3 separate regions of the Homo sapiens genome follow, and regions 2 and 3 are each linked to region 1. Evidence: promoter capture Hi-C in 16 types of primary human blood cells and fetal thymus (Javierre and others, 2016). All regions are on one chromosome and are shown on one strand. The core of a region is centred on a gene start or on the middle of the fragment in contact, and the rest is flanking DNA. Distances in the headings are between cores, read along the strand shown. Region 1 holds the start of ZNF468 (zinc finger protein 468). Region 2 holds the start of ZNF677 (zinc finger protein 677). Region 3 holds the start of ZNF415 (zinc finger protein 415).

Evidence for each region. Contacts are between HindIII fragments. The CHiCAGO score rates a contact against its expected background, and 5 or more counts as called.
Region 2: a contact is called between the fragment with the promoter of ZNF677 here and the fragment with the promoter of ZNF468 in region 1, in 4 of 17 cell types (neutrophils, naive CD4 T cells, naive CD8 T cells and 1 more). The highest score is 8.4, in neutrophils.
Region 3: a contact is called between the fragment with the promoter of ZNF415 here and the fragment with the promoter of ZNF468 in region 1, in 6 of 17 cell types (M0 macrophages, total B cells, neutrophils and 3 more). The highest score is 8.2, in M0 macrophages.

The regions. Positions count from the first base shown.
Region 1 is chr19:52,855,146-52,859,558 of GRCh38, reverse strand. It overlaps ZNF468 (zinc finger protein 468), which reads left to right and starts at 1,940. Exons shown (of 4, transcript NM_001008801.2): 1 at 1,940-1,987. It also overlaps a transcript of ZNF320 not described here. RefSeq lists an enhancer at 2,262-2,341. The HindIII fragment of the contact is 10,660 bases long and covers 1-4,413 here.
Region 2 is chr19:53,253,340-53,257,752 of GRCh38, reverse strand. It overlaps ZNF677 (zinc finger protein 677), which reads left to right and starts at 2,880. Exons shown (of 5, transcript NM_182609.4): 1 at 2,880-2,919. The HindIII fragment of the contact is 13,972 bases long and covers 1-4,413 here.
Region 3 is chr19:53,130,708-53,135,120 of GRCh38, reverse strand. It overlaps ZNF415 (zinc finger protein 415), which reads left to right and starts at 2,211. Exons shown (of 4, transcript NM_018355.4): 1 at 2,211-2,265. ZNF347 (zinc finger protein 347) reads left to right here. Exons shown (of 5, transcript NM_032584.3): 5 at 1-186. The HindIII fragment of the contact is 7,510 bases long and covers 27-4,413 here.

The DNA of each region.
Region 1 (4,413 bases), core at 691-3,190:
TTGGAGTTGATGTTTCCAGATGGCTATCCTCAAACTTTGTGTTCCAATAAACTCTATAATTAATCGTGTATTCTGAATTTTATTATTTACTGCTGACGTCAGTTTCCGTCAGATTGTAGGAGCCTCACTAGAGAGGGCACCTGTCGCCATGTCGTAAAACTCACACTTGTCAAAAAGACGTGGGTTAATGTATTTCCCCTCCTTCTGCATGAAGCTAGTTAGCTGACACAGATGGTCACCTCCATTACCAAGTAGAGCCAGGATGAACTATGTGCGACCAAAGACTTGTCAAGTCCTCTTCCCTGAGGACTGATTAGTGTTTATCTTGAAAACATGTACTTAATGGGTTGTATAGAGCAGTGAAGTTTCTCTCTTTTCAACCTCTCAGCTCTTTGCCTGTATTTCCCAACACATTCTGGTCTAAGGCTTATTTACTAATAAAATGGTTTTTATTTCTTCCTGTTTTGTCATGAAGATGATTTCTCATTTTGGGGAAGATTTTTTAGTTTTCAATTGTATTTTTTCAACATTTAAAAAGCGAAGTAAAGAGTATTTCTTGGGCCAGGCACAGTGGCTCACGCCTGTAATCCCAGAACTTCGGGAGGCCGAGGCAGGCGGATCACTTGAAGTCAGGAGTTCGAGACCAGCCTGTCCAACATGATGAAACCCCGTCTGTACCCAAAATACAAAAATTAGCCGGGCATGGTGGGTGTGCCTGTAATGCCAGCTACTCCGGAGGCTGAGGCAGAAGAATCGCTTCAACCCAGGAGGCAGAGGCTGCAGTGAGCCGAGATGTCACCATTGTACTCCAGCCTGGGCGACAGAGAAATACTCAGTCTCAAAAAAAAAAAAAAAAAGAAGAAGAAGAAGAAAAAGAAAAAATGTAAATAAAAAGGAGAAAGTAACAGATCTCTTTTACAAATGTGCTGGGACAACTAACTGGATATCCATATGGAGAAGAGTAATGTTGTATTCCTATCTCACACAAGCAAATTTAGTTTGTTTATTTATTTTTAGAGAGGGAGTCTGGCTCTGTCGCCCAGGCTGGAGTGCAGTGGCTCGGTCTCGGCCCACTGCAAGCTCCACCTCCCATGTTCACCGCATTCTCCTGCCTCAGCCTCCTGAGTAGCTGGGACTACAGGCGCCCGCCACCACGCCCGGCTAATTTTTGTATTTTTAGTGGAGACGGGGTTTCATCGTGTAAGCCAGGATGGTCGCGATCTCCTGACCTCGTGATCCGCCCGCCTCAGCCTCCCAAAGTGCTGGGATTACAGGCGTGAGTCACCGTGCCCGGCCTAATAAAAATTTTATTTTAAAAATTTAAAAAAGAGAGAGACTGCGGGAGGGAATGTTACATTGTCGCGCAGGCTGTCCTGGACCCCCAGGCTGAGCGATCCTCCCGCCGCTGCTTCCTGAGTAGCTGGGACCTCAGGCTCCCACGCCCGCATCCCTGCTGTGTTTAAGCAGCAGGTGGTGACCTCACTCCTCCCTGGCCTGAGCACTCCGTCTGGCATCCCAGGCTGTGGCCCTAGGGATGTCTCTGAAGCTGAGCACTGGGTGGACTCTCCCTCCTGAGTGAATGGAGAATAGAAAGGGAGAAGATTTCTATACTGTCCTGTGGGCCATCAGCATGAAATCCTACGTTCCGCCCAGAAAGGGCTTTGCATTTTACATTCTAGTTTGCATCCTCCTTCCAGACTATTCCAGGGCTTTTGAATTATCCGTCTGCCTTCCTGGGGGCTCTCGCCGCCAAAACCCGGAGAACGGGTTGGGAGGAGGCTGAGAGATGCACAGGTCCCGCTCCGGCCCCGCCCTCTGCGGGTTCTAAAGGGCAAGGTCTCGCCGCTTCGCGCCCCGCCCACACCTCACCCGGGCCCCGCTCGCCTCCTCGTTGGCTCCACCCAGGCCTGGTTTCTGTCCTGCGCGCGCAGATTCGCGCAGACCAGGAAGTGGATCCCGTGGAATGACGGTCACGCCGCGGCGGGCGGTGAGTTTTGCTCTGTGTGGTGTTAAGTCTGAGCTTCCCAGGTCCCCGGCACTTCTGTACATGGGATGTGGGGTCCCCATAGACCTGGAAGTTCTCGCCTTTCTTCCTTCACTCAGAGCAAATGGAGATGTTCTACTGGGAGTCCGGAAGCCCCTTCTTTTTAGGTTTAAAGTCGCCCTGAGGCTGGTCCCGTCCCGGGTCTTTCTGCCATAGGGCAATGTATACGTTTCCTATCGCGTAGTTTTCCTGCTCAAAACCGTTTTTTGACTCCTTCCGCACGGCTCTTTTTAAAGTCCTCACCCTAGAGGTGTATTCCCACCCTGTGCGCCTCCCAGCCTTACTCTCCTGGGTTCCTGGAGCACAGCGCGGCGACCCCAGTCCCGGGAAGGCTGCGTTCTGTGGTCCTGGGATCCTGCGGATCCCACCCTTGTCCGAAGGCGTCGTCGCTCCCCACCTCCCTCCTCCTCTTGCTGGGCCCTGCTGCTCCCCAGATCTCCCCTCCGCAGTCACCGCGTCCCCTGAGCCCTCGTTGGAGAGGTGCCTGGGGCTTGTCCTGTGACGCGGGGTGTTCTTGCCCGCCCAGCTCCAGCACTTGGAAAATGCGCTTCTCCGAGATGCAGGCGTCTTACTCCAAACCCTCTTGTGATCGTGTGGGCCAAAGGGATCAGGAGACAGAGAGAGGGACTGAGAGAGCAGTAGAAAACCTGAGACAGAGAAAAGAAGAATGAGAAAGACCCATAACAGATGGCAAAGTAGAGGATGGGTGAGGGATTTGCCAAGAGACAGCAAAAGTGATAAAAGATAAGAAAGCAGGAGGAGAAAAGCAACTGGAGAAATGTAGAGAAAAGCTAGATGTACAGAGAGATGAAGGACAGCAAGGTAGGGAGAGGGGCAGAAATGTGGAGGCTCATCAGAGTGAGGGAGAGGAGGAGGGATGTGGAGCCGGGTCAGACAGAGCAGAGTGGTGCTGGTGGCAAGGAGAACAGAGGGAGAAGCACAGCGGGGAGGACACCTGGGGATCTGGGGTGCCAGATTGGGTCCAGGGGGTTATAACAGAGAAGAGAGAATTTAACAGGGAGAGCAGAGGAGGCGCATAGATGGGAGAAGAGGCAGAAATCTATGGAGATTGAGGACGATCTAAAGATTGGGGAGAAGGACCAACAGGAGGTTAAATAAGTTGCAAGGATGGAGCCCAGCTAATTTTTGTATTTCTAGTAGAGATAGGGTTTCACCATGTTGGCCAGGTTGGTCTCAAACTCCTGACCTCAGGTAATCCACCCACCTCCACCTCCCAAAGTGCTGGAATTACAGGTGTGAACCACCTCAGCTGTCCACCCATGTATTTCTTGATTGAAATAATTTGCTTATGTCTTGGTTCTACAGCTGACCCTGTTTCCCTGTTTTCAAGGTCAAGAGCTGTGTGTTTACACTGCTGCATTTTATAAATGTTAGTGTGATTTTCTTGTAAGGAAGAATTCAATGTTGGGAGTCAATTTCATCAGAACCTTTCAAAAGAATTTTCTTTAACCCAGGCATGTGAAAAATGCTTCTCTAATTTTAAGAATGGGATGATAAGACCAACCCATCCCATTAGCCCTTCCAGGCCCCCATGTAAGAATTCAGGCACACCTTCTCACTCATCTCAGACCTTCTCAGGGTAACTTCGTGAAAATGTTTCCAGCTCTGAGCCCCAGTGAACCTCCCTGCATCTTTGCGACGAAGGGCTAGACCAGAAAAGCTCAACCTGAGTGATCCTGACCCCTGAAATGATTGGCAAAATAGAGGCGGTGTCTGGGTGTGGCTTTTTTTCTGGTAGAGGAGAGTGCCCAGTTGTAATTAGAATTTTCAGTGGGATGCAGTACCCCAAAAATGAAAAAAAAAAAAGCAGAAGAATGGAAGAAACAGAGCGGTAGACTCAGAAACAGAGAGGATCTTTGGAGGCCTTTGTCTGTATTAGAATATCACAGCTACATCTAAAGCAGGTCATGTCAGTGCCTGGCAGGGAACCCTCCACCTGCTTCCCGTGTTCCCCAGGACAAAAGCCCGACTCTTCACTTTGGCTCCACAGCCCTGTGTTCAGGGTCCCTGCCAGTGTCCAGCCTCCTCCTGGGAGCTTACCCTCATCTGACTCCCTCTGCCCCAGTCACATTTGCTTTTCTCTTTTTTCAAACATCAAAATCCTTCCTGTCTCAGGTTGTTGTCCCTGCTCTTATTCAATGTTTCTAAATGAAGATGGCACTGTCCCTTTCTCCTTCAGGTCTAGGCTCAGAGCTGTCTCCCATGCCCTCCCACCCCCATCTGAAGTTCCCTCTACCCATCAGTGTCTATGGCATTACTCAAGTCTTCTTATCTCTGTGTCAATCCCATCAGAAATGCACTTTTTTTTTTTTTTTCAAACAGACTCTCACTCTGTCCTCCGGGCTGTG
Region 2 (4,413 bases), core at 1,631-4,130, 400 kb before region 1:
AATTGCTACCAACTAATGATTAATGATATTCATATATAATCATGTCTATGATCTAGATCTAATATAACTCTTGTTGTTTTATATATTTTATTATGCTGGAACAGCTCGTGCCCTCGGTCTCTTGCCTCGGCAGCTGGGTGGCTTGCTGCCCACAAATAGGAAGATCATTCCAATTTTCAGGTCCACAGAGGCCATTCTGTCATTTTCCAGCACTCAATATTGAGTAAGCAGAAGGTTCTGCATGGCAACACGAGTTGTGGGCCACATTTTCATGGAAAATAACCTTTCACTTATGACGATTTCTTCCCCCTGAATATTAAAAGTGAAATATATAGAGAGATATATTGTTAACAAATTTCCCATTTCGTGTATTTCTTTTTACAGCACCTACAATGTATGAGTGACTTTTATAAATGCTGTACCTATTCTGACATTTAATATTCACAACTCCATGAGGTAGGAATTCATATTATTCTCCTTTCACCAACTCTAAAAGAGTTTAAGCACAAGGAGATTAGGTGACTCATTTAAATACCAGAAGAGTGAAGATTTGAACGTGAGTAGCCTGGTTGCAGTAACATTGGTGTTCACTACTACGCTATAATAGTTGCCTAGTTGTGTCCTTTATATATCTATACACACATATATATACATATACACACACACATACATACACGCACACCTACATATGTATAAATATTTGTCATGTTCACTTTATAAATTTGGTTTGATAATTTCCTATTTTTGTCAAAGTATTTATTCTACATATCAATATAACTTATGAGTGAATATTCATAGGTCTTGATAAGTTATAATAGGCACTAAATAATTTCATATGACCCAATGTATTTAATGTGAGTAGATGTTAAGATACCAGCAGAAACACTCATTTCACTGTCTGCAAAGACTAAAAATACTACGGCACCCATCACGGAAATTAATGTACAACATTAGGTAGAGTGTGCACTAAAATATGAGACATGAAACATAAAAGGTGATAAAGCATTTTAGGCTAGAAAACGAATCATTTTAAAGATTATGTAACTATATATTTATTATTTTAAAACAACTAACTGAAACTTGAATTAATATTTGATTTGGGAAACCTATGAAAATATAATAATTCTGCAAAATGGAATTTGAAAGTATGGAATCTTGTGCATTTAATACATTGAAAAGAGAAAGAGGCTGGGCGCTGTGGCTCACACCTGTAATCCCAGCACTTTGGGAGGCCAAGATGGGTGGGTCACAAGGTCAAAAGATCGAGACATCGTAGCTAATACGGTGAAACCCCGTCTGTACGGGTGAGACTCCGTCTCAAAAAAAAAAAATTTAAATACATATATGTATTTTTATATGTAAAATAAATAGAATTTTTATATGTGTATGTTTATATGTAAATAACATATATGTATTTTTATGCTAAAATGCACTCTCATTTTTTTTTCACCCTTCACCTGTTATCAGATGTAATTCCCAGTTACGAAAACAGAGACCCAAAGAGACAGTGGATAGACCTTGGTTTACTCAGATACCCCCATATGGGCTCATCTTCTCTTGGGGAGCCTCCAGTCAATAAGTTTCCTCTCTGGGCCCAAGAGAAATCAATTCAGTTGGCCAGGAGAATTGCCAAGCACATATTATGTTAAAAATACTCTTCCAAATAACTGAGAATAAAGACTTTACAGACTAAAGGCCAGGAGCGGTGGCTCACGCCTATAACCCCAGCACTTCATGAGGCCCAGGTGGGCGGATCACATGAGCTCAGGGGTCCCAGACCAACCTGGCTAACGTGGTGAAACCCCGTCTCTACTAAAAATGCAAAAATTAGCCAGGCATGGTGGCACACGCCTGTAGTCCCAGGTACTCGGGAGGCTGAGGCAGGAAAATCGCTTGACCCAGGAGGCGTAGGTTGCCGTGAGCCGAGATCGCGCCATTACAATCCAGCCTGGGAAACAGAGACTCCATCTCAAAATAATAATAAAAATAATAATAACGATAGTATATTAGTAATTAATAACTTAGACAAAACACAACATACCAACTCCAATAAATCCAGCACTTGGATTTGTAATTTATCTCAAGAAATGTGCATTAGGATAATAAAGGAAAATAAATTTAGATCGATACAAGCAGAACTTTGCGTTCTTTTAAAGCCAAGCCTCAGCCTTCCACCCCCCACCGCCCAGGGTCTGACCCCATAAATTCTCTGGAACTCAGCCCATGGTGCATCTCTGCCTCCTGGGTGACTGGGGAGCGGAAATAAAAATTACGTTCCAGTGAAAGTCAATATAAAATTGTACACTCCGCACAGGCACAAAAATGCATCTCATTCCAGTTTCCATCACCTACGCAGACAACTCCAGCTTTCGCTTAATTAAATACAAATTTTAATCGTCCGGATTTCAGAAGTTCCTGGATCCAAGAGCTTCCTTATACCGTCGCCCTCTCCCATCCACCAGGTCCCAGCGCTCCTCCCGCCTCGTCGCAGGACGCGCCTCCATCGCTCGCAGAAACGTTTTCAAGCAAACCTTTCCCATCTTAAGCTCCGATTCCAATATAAGGGGCCCACAGGTCTCTAATTTTTTACTTAGCTAGGCTCCAAAGGACACCATAGAGATTCAAGGGAATCCAAAAGTGAAGAATCGAGTACTGCTGGGCGACAAACAGGCCTAAAAAAGTCGCTGGGACGCGCCGAGGAGAGGTCCGGCAGTCCGACCCCTAGGCCCCGCCCATCCCGCCATTGTCCCCGCCCATCCCGCCATTGTCCCCGCCCATCCCCGCCATTTGCCCGCCCATCCCCACAGTTGTCCGCGCCCTGCCCCTGCCCTTGCCCCTTGCGCCGCCCCAGTGCACTCGCGTACGCGCAGGTTCCTGCCGACCCGGAAGCGGATCTCGCGGGGCTACTGGCGCTCTCGGGTGAGTCTCCGTCTTTCGGGTTCAAGCCTGCGCCTCGCGGGCCACAGGTTCCCACGCTCCGCTGTCGGGTTTTGGGGTCGCCCTGTAGGTTAAAACCCCGAACCTGCTCATTCCTCTCGCGGCGTGGCCCTAAGACGTTCCCAGTCCCGTCGCTCCGAGAGGGTCTAGAGATCTGCGTCCATTTCGGATTAAAATCGTTCTGAAGTGGGTACTGGCCCCGACCTTTTTGCTTTAGGTCAGTGTGGACACCGACCGCCCACCGCGTCGTTTCTCTGCTTAAAACTCTTCTCTGACTCCCTCTTCCCTCCCCCTGGTAAAGCCCTCACTCGGGGTGGATACACACCCTTCGCCCTTCTCCAGGGAGAACAGAGGGGAAGCAGAAATGGAGGATAAAGAGGGAGAAATGCGCGAAATTAGAGAGCCATCAGAAACAATAGCAGGGACTGAAAAAAAGGATGCTACCAGGATGGGGCCAAACACTCTGTCAGAGAAGGAGAGGAAGGGAAGCCAAATGAGCAGAAAGGGACAGGAAAACGCCGAAATGGGAAAAAGAAAAGGAAAGAAACAGAAGGTGGAAGAGAAACATTTATAGAGAGGGGGAAAAAAATCACATAATGGTGGAGAAAGGGGGGGGCACCCAAATCCATGTGAGTGTGGATTGATTTAATATGGAACATTAAGTTGTGAAGTACTGATGTATGGCTCTATAATTAATTTAAAATTTGCTTCATTGTTTGTGCAGAAGAGCATGAAAATTGCAAAACTACGGTGTGAGGCTTCTGCGTTTTCTAATTATTACATCAGAAGCAACCCTTATTCAGCCAGAGGGTTAACTGACTTAGCTCAGTTAATTCCAGCTCACCCTCTTCCCTTTCTCTGATCTTGAGGAGAGTCAAGAAATGGGAAGAAACTGTGACACCGTATGCTGCTTTTGCAAACAGACATTAACAATATTATTCCCTCCTTTTTTGTGTGTGGCTTGTGTCATTTTCTAAATTTGACGTGTATTCAACTTGTCTTAAATGTAATTCCATAATTTATTGGATTTAAAAAAAATTTTCAAAGTATTTTCTCTTAAATGTATTGTTCAGCTTATGAGGTTTAAATGCTTTCTTTTGCTTTCTTTTATTTATTTATTTATTTTTTTGAGACGGAGTCTCACTCTGTCACCCAGGCTGGAGTGCAGTGGCTTGATCTCGGCTCACTGCAACCTCCGCCTCCAGGGTTCAAGCGATTCTCCTGCCTTAGCCTCCCGAGTGGCTGGGATTAAAGGCATGCGCCACCATGCCCGGTGAATTTGTATTTTTAGCAGAGACGGGATTTTCACCTTGTTAGCCAGGCTGGTCTCGAACTCCTGACCTCAGGTGATCTGTCTCCGCCTCTCAAAGCACTGGGATTACAGGCGTGAGCCACCGCGCCTGGCCTAAATGCTTTCTACTTTTTATCATATATTGGAACTATTCTTTTATGTCTGGTACTTGATTTCACAGTGTT
Region 3 (4,413 bases), core at 962-3,461, 280 kb before region 1:
TGTTGTCTGGTTGCAAAGACAAAGCTTTTAATGATGATGCTACAGTAACAATGCTAGTTATTTTTGTCCTTTACTCACCATCTATACCTATTTTGTTAGTATCTCTTGTAATTTTTAAATGGTTTATCTTCATATATCATTGTGATTGTGGTAACTTTGTATTAAATCTATATTTTTATAGATCAATTAAGTCTATATTTTATAGATCACTATTGCGTATGCATCTTACCTAAATGAATGACAGAGACACTCATTACCACATAATCCTGTAAGAACGATTATCCAATCTTTCGAAGGAGGCATCCAGTACCTGAGGTGTTAGTTCTAGTGGTGGCCAGGCGCTGTAGCTCACCCCTGTAATCCCAGCACTTTGGGAGGCCAAGGGGGGTGGATCTCCTGAGGTCAGGAATTGGAGACCAGCCTGGCCAACATGGTGAAAACCCATCTCTACTAAAAATACAAAAAATAGCTGGGTGTGGTGGCGCGTGCGTGTGGTTGAAGCTACTCAAGAGGCTGAGGCAGGAGAATCGCTTGAGCCTGGGAGGTAGAGGTTACAGTAAGCTGAGATCACACCACCGCACTCCAGCCTGGGTGACAGAACAAGACTCTGTCTCAAAAAAAAAAAAAAATCACTAATAATGACAAAGTGCATATTTCTTGAGCTGAGAATATTTTTGTATCTGTGTTTCCATTGTTCGTTTCCAAAAACAATTACAGGTTGCTAATACACATCAACTGGACTGTTCAGTAGAAGCTCCTGTGTTTCTCATGATCTCTGACAGCATCCAGGGGTTCACATGGAGAAAGCAGAATATGCTGAGGTCTGAGATTTGATGGATGGTGATGTTGGAAATCTTTTTATGTGCCCATTTATCTCAGTATATCTGCTTCAGTGAAATGTCTCTTCATAGTTCTATCCATTTTCTAATTTGATTATTTTGCTTTTTTTTTAAGTCGTTCTAGGATTCTTTATACATTCCACATACCAGTTTTATGTCAGATATATGGTAGGCAAATATTTTCTATTATTCAGTACTGTATTAGTCCATTTTCACACTGCCTAAACCCTCCTGTGACAACCTGAGACTGGGTAATTTATAAACAAAAGAGGTTTAATTGACTCACAGTTCCGCATGGCTAGGGAGCCCTCAGGAAACTTACAATCATAGAGGAAGGCAAAGGCGAAGCAAGGCACGTCTTGCTTGCAGCAGGAGAGAGAGCGATCAAAGGAGGAACTATCACAGATTTTTAAACCATGAGATCTCCTGAGAGCTCACTATCATGAGAACGGCTTGGGGAAAACCACCCCCATGATCCAGTCACCTCCCACCAGGTCCCTCCCTCAACACCTGAGGTTTATACTTGAAAATGAGATTTGATGGGGACACTGAGCCAAACCATATCAAATACCTTTTCTTTCATCGTCTGAAGGTCTTTCACAGACCAAAAGTTTTTAATTTGGTAAATACCAGTTGATTTTTTTTTTCTTTAATGAATCATGCTTTTGCTGCTATGGCTAAGAATTTTTGAACAAGCTCTTGATTCTTACGATTTTATTGTGAGTAATTTTTTCTTTCAGTCTCCTACAGGATACCATTTTATGGTTTGATATTTTACATTTAGGCTATGGTCAATGTTGAACTAATGTCTGTACGGTTGTGAAGTTTGAGTAGAGATGACTTCTTTCCTGCTGTGGATATTAAGTTAGCCCCTCACCAGTTTTTAAAAATTCTTCATTCAATTCCCTTGGTAACTTTGTCAAAAATCAGTTGGAAGTACCTGTAGAGGCTATTTTTGTACTCTCTTACTGTATTGCATCAATCCATATGTCTTTTATTGCCCCAAAACCACACAGTTTTTATTACCTTTCCTATATTGGTAGTCTTGAAATCCAGTGGAGTGATTCCAGACACTTCATTTTTGTTTTTTGGTAACTTTTATGGATCCAATCACTGCTAGTTTTGGATTCCCCACCGAAATCCCAGTTCCCGGACTGCTAAGCTGCAGGAGACTCCCTAGCAGGATCGGGTCCAACCTGCAGGCAAAATAGTTTTAACATAAACCGTTTTCAACTTGGTAAGTGGAAAACATTTTGGTTTCCACCATAAGTGGCCCACACAACTCTGATTTTTTTACCTTAAAGCGGCGCAGACCCCGCCCACTCCAGCCATTCCTTCAGGCTGCCCGGGCTCTTCTCTCCGCGCATGCGCAGTTTCCTACAGGCCCGGAAACGGATCGCGTTGGGTGAAGGTGACGGCGTCGAGCGTGAGTGACCCTCTGTGTAGATTAAACCTGCGCTCCCTGTTTCCCATTTCCACAGCCGATGTCCAGGGTCGATACGGCCCTTAAAATCCCCGTACACTCCACCCCAGGTGAATACAGGCCTCGCAGTGTGGGTCCGGAGTCGCTTCCCTTTGGGTTGAAGTCGCTTTGAGGCTGCTCCCCGTCCCCGGCCTTTTGCTTCTTCCTCCCGCTTAAAACCTTTTCCTGACCCCCTCCCCCATCCCCGGGCTTTTTAAAGTCTTCACCCAAGAGGTGTATTCCCGTCCTGGGTGCCTCCCAGCCTTGCCCTCGTCGGCCCCTGGAGCGCAGCGCCGCAGCTGCAGCCGCAGTCCCGGGGAGCCTTGCGTCCTCTGCCTGGTCCTGGGATCCTGCAGACCCCACCCCTGTCTGAAGGCGCTGTCGCGCCCCACCTCCCTCCTCCTCGTGCCGGGCCCCGCTGCTCCCCAGGCCTCCCCTGAGCCCGCGCTGGGGAGGTGCTCAGGGCCTGTCCTGTGACACCCGATGTTCTTGCCTGCCCTCCTCCACCCCGTGGAAAATGCGCTCCTCCAGGATGCAGGCGTCTTACCCCAAACCGTCCTGTGAATGTGTGGGCCAAAGGGATCGAGGGACAGAGAGAGCAGTAGAAAACCTGAGACAGGAAGGAATGAGGCAAACCAATAAACAGATGGCAAAGTAGAGGATGGTTAGAGATTTTCAGAGACAGTAAGAGTGGAAGAAGAAGCCGAGAAAGTAGCAGGGAGAGAAAAGTAACTAGACACATTTCGAGAAAAAGCACAGTATCCAGAGAGATGAAGGACAGCCAGGTAGGGAGAGGGGCAGCAAAGGAGGAGGCTCCTCAGACAGAGAGTGGGGGAGAGCAGAAGGGATTTGGAGCCAGGGCAGACAGGGCAGTGTGGTACCGGGACAGCAAGAGGGGGCAGCCGATGACAAGGAGAAGCAGAGGGAGAACCACAGCACGGGGAGGCCTGGGATCTGGGGGTGCCAAAGAGTGGGGACAACGGTGTGTAACAGGGAAGAGGGAATTTAACAGGGAGTGCTGAAATGGGGAAGAAAGAGCCAGAAATATGTGGAGACTGGGACAATGAAAAGATTAGGAAGAAAGAGGAATTAAATACATTGCAAGAATGGAAAGAGCAAGTGGAAGAGAAAGAATAGAGGGAAGACGGGGAGGAGCAGCAGGAGAGGAGAGGGGCTCAAAATGAGCAGAATCCTAGGGAGAAAATAAAGGGGAAGGAAAGAGCTAGAGAAAGAAGGTGAGAATGAGAGCGATGTACGGAACGAGGGAGGGAAACACACCATAATGAGGAAAGAGGGGGACCCCAGGTCCAGGTGAGTTGTGAACTGACTGGATGTGATGACTACCTTTTGACCTGTTGATTTCTGTCTTTATAAGTTTAAAATGCACAGATGATGAGAATTGCAAAGCTCCTGTCTATTAAGGCTGGTGCATTTTATAATTATGGCATCAGAAGTTAGCTTCCACTTGCAATCCCTGTTAAGGCAGAGGGAAGTGACTTGACTCATTAATTCCACAGGTCATCCTCTTCCCCTTCCCTGGCGTTGGGGCAGGGGGAGGGGAAGGGGGAGTGGGAGAGTAAAGCTGGGCAGAAAGTGAAAGACTGTCACTACATAGTGTCTCTCTAAAGCAGGGGTGTCCAATCTTTTGGCTTCCCTGGGCCACATTGGAAGAAGAATTGTCTTGGGCCACACATAAAGTACACTAACACTAACAATAGCTGATGAGCTAAAAAAAAAAAAAAAAAAAAAAAAAAAAGTTGCAAGAAAATCTCAAAATGTTTTAAGGAAGTTTAGGAATTTGTGTTGGGCTGCATTCAAAGCCTTCCTGGGCTGCGGATTGGACAACGTTGCTCAAAAGGAACATTAAAAGTGTTGAGGCTGGGCATGGTGGCTCATGCCTGTAATCCCAGCACTTTGGGAGGCCGAGGTGGGTGAATCACAAGGTCAGTAGTTCAAGACCAGCCTGGCAAAGATGGTGAAACCCCATCTCTACTAAAAATACAAAACTTAGCCAGGTATGGTGACACGCATCTGTAATCCCAGCTACTCAGGAGGCTGAGGCAAAGCATTGTGTAAACCCGGGAGGCGGAGGTTGCAGTGAGCCAAGAGCCG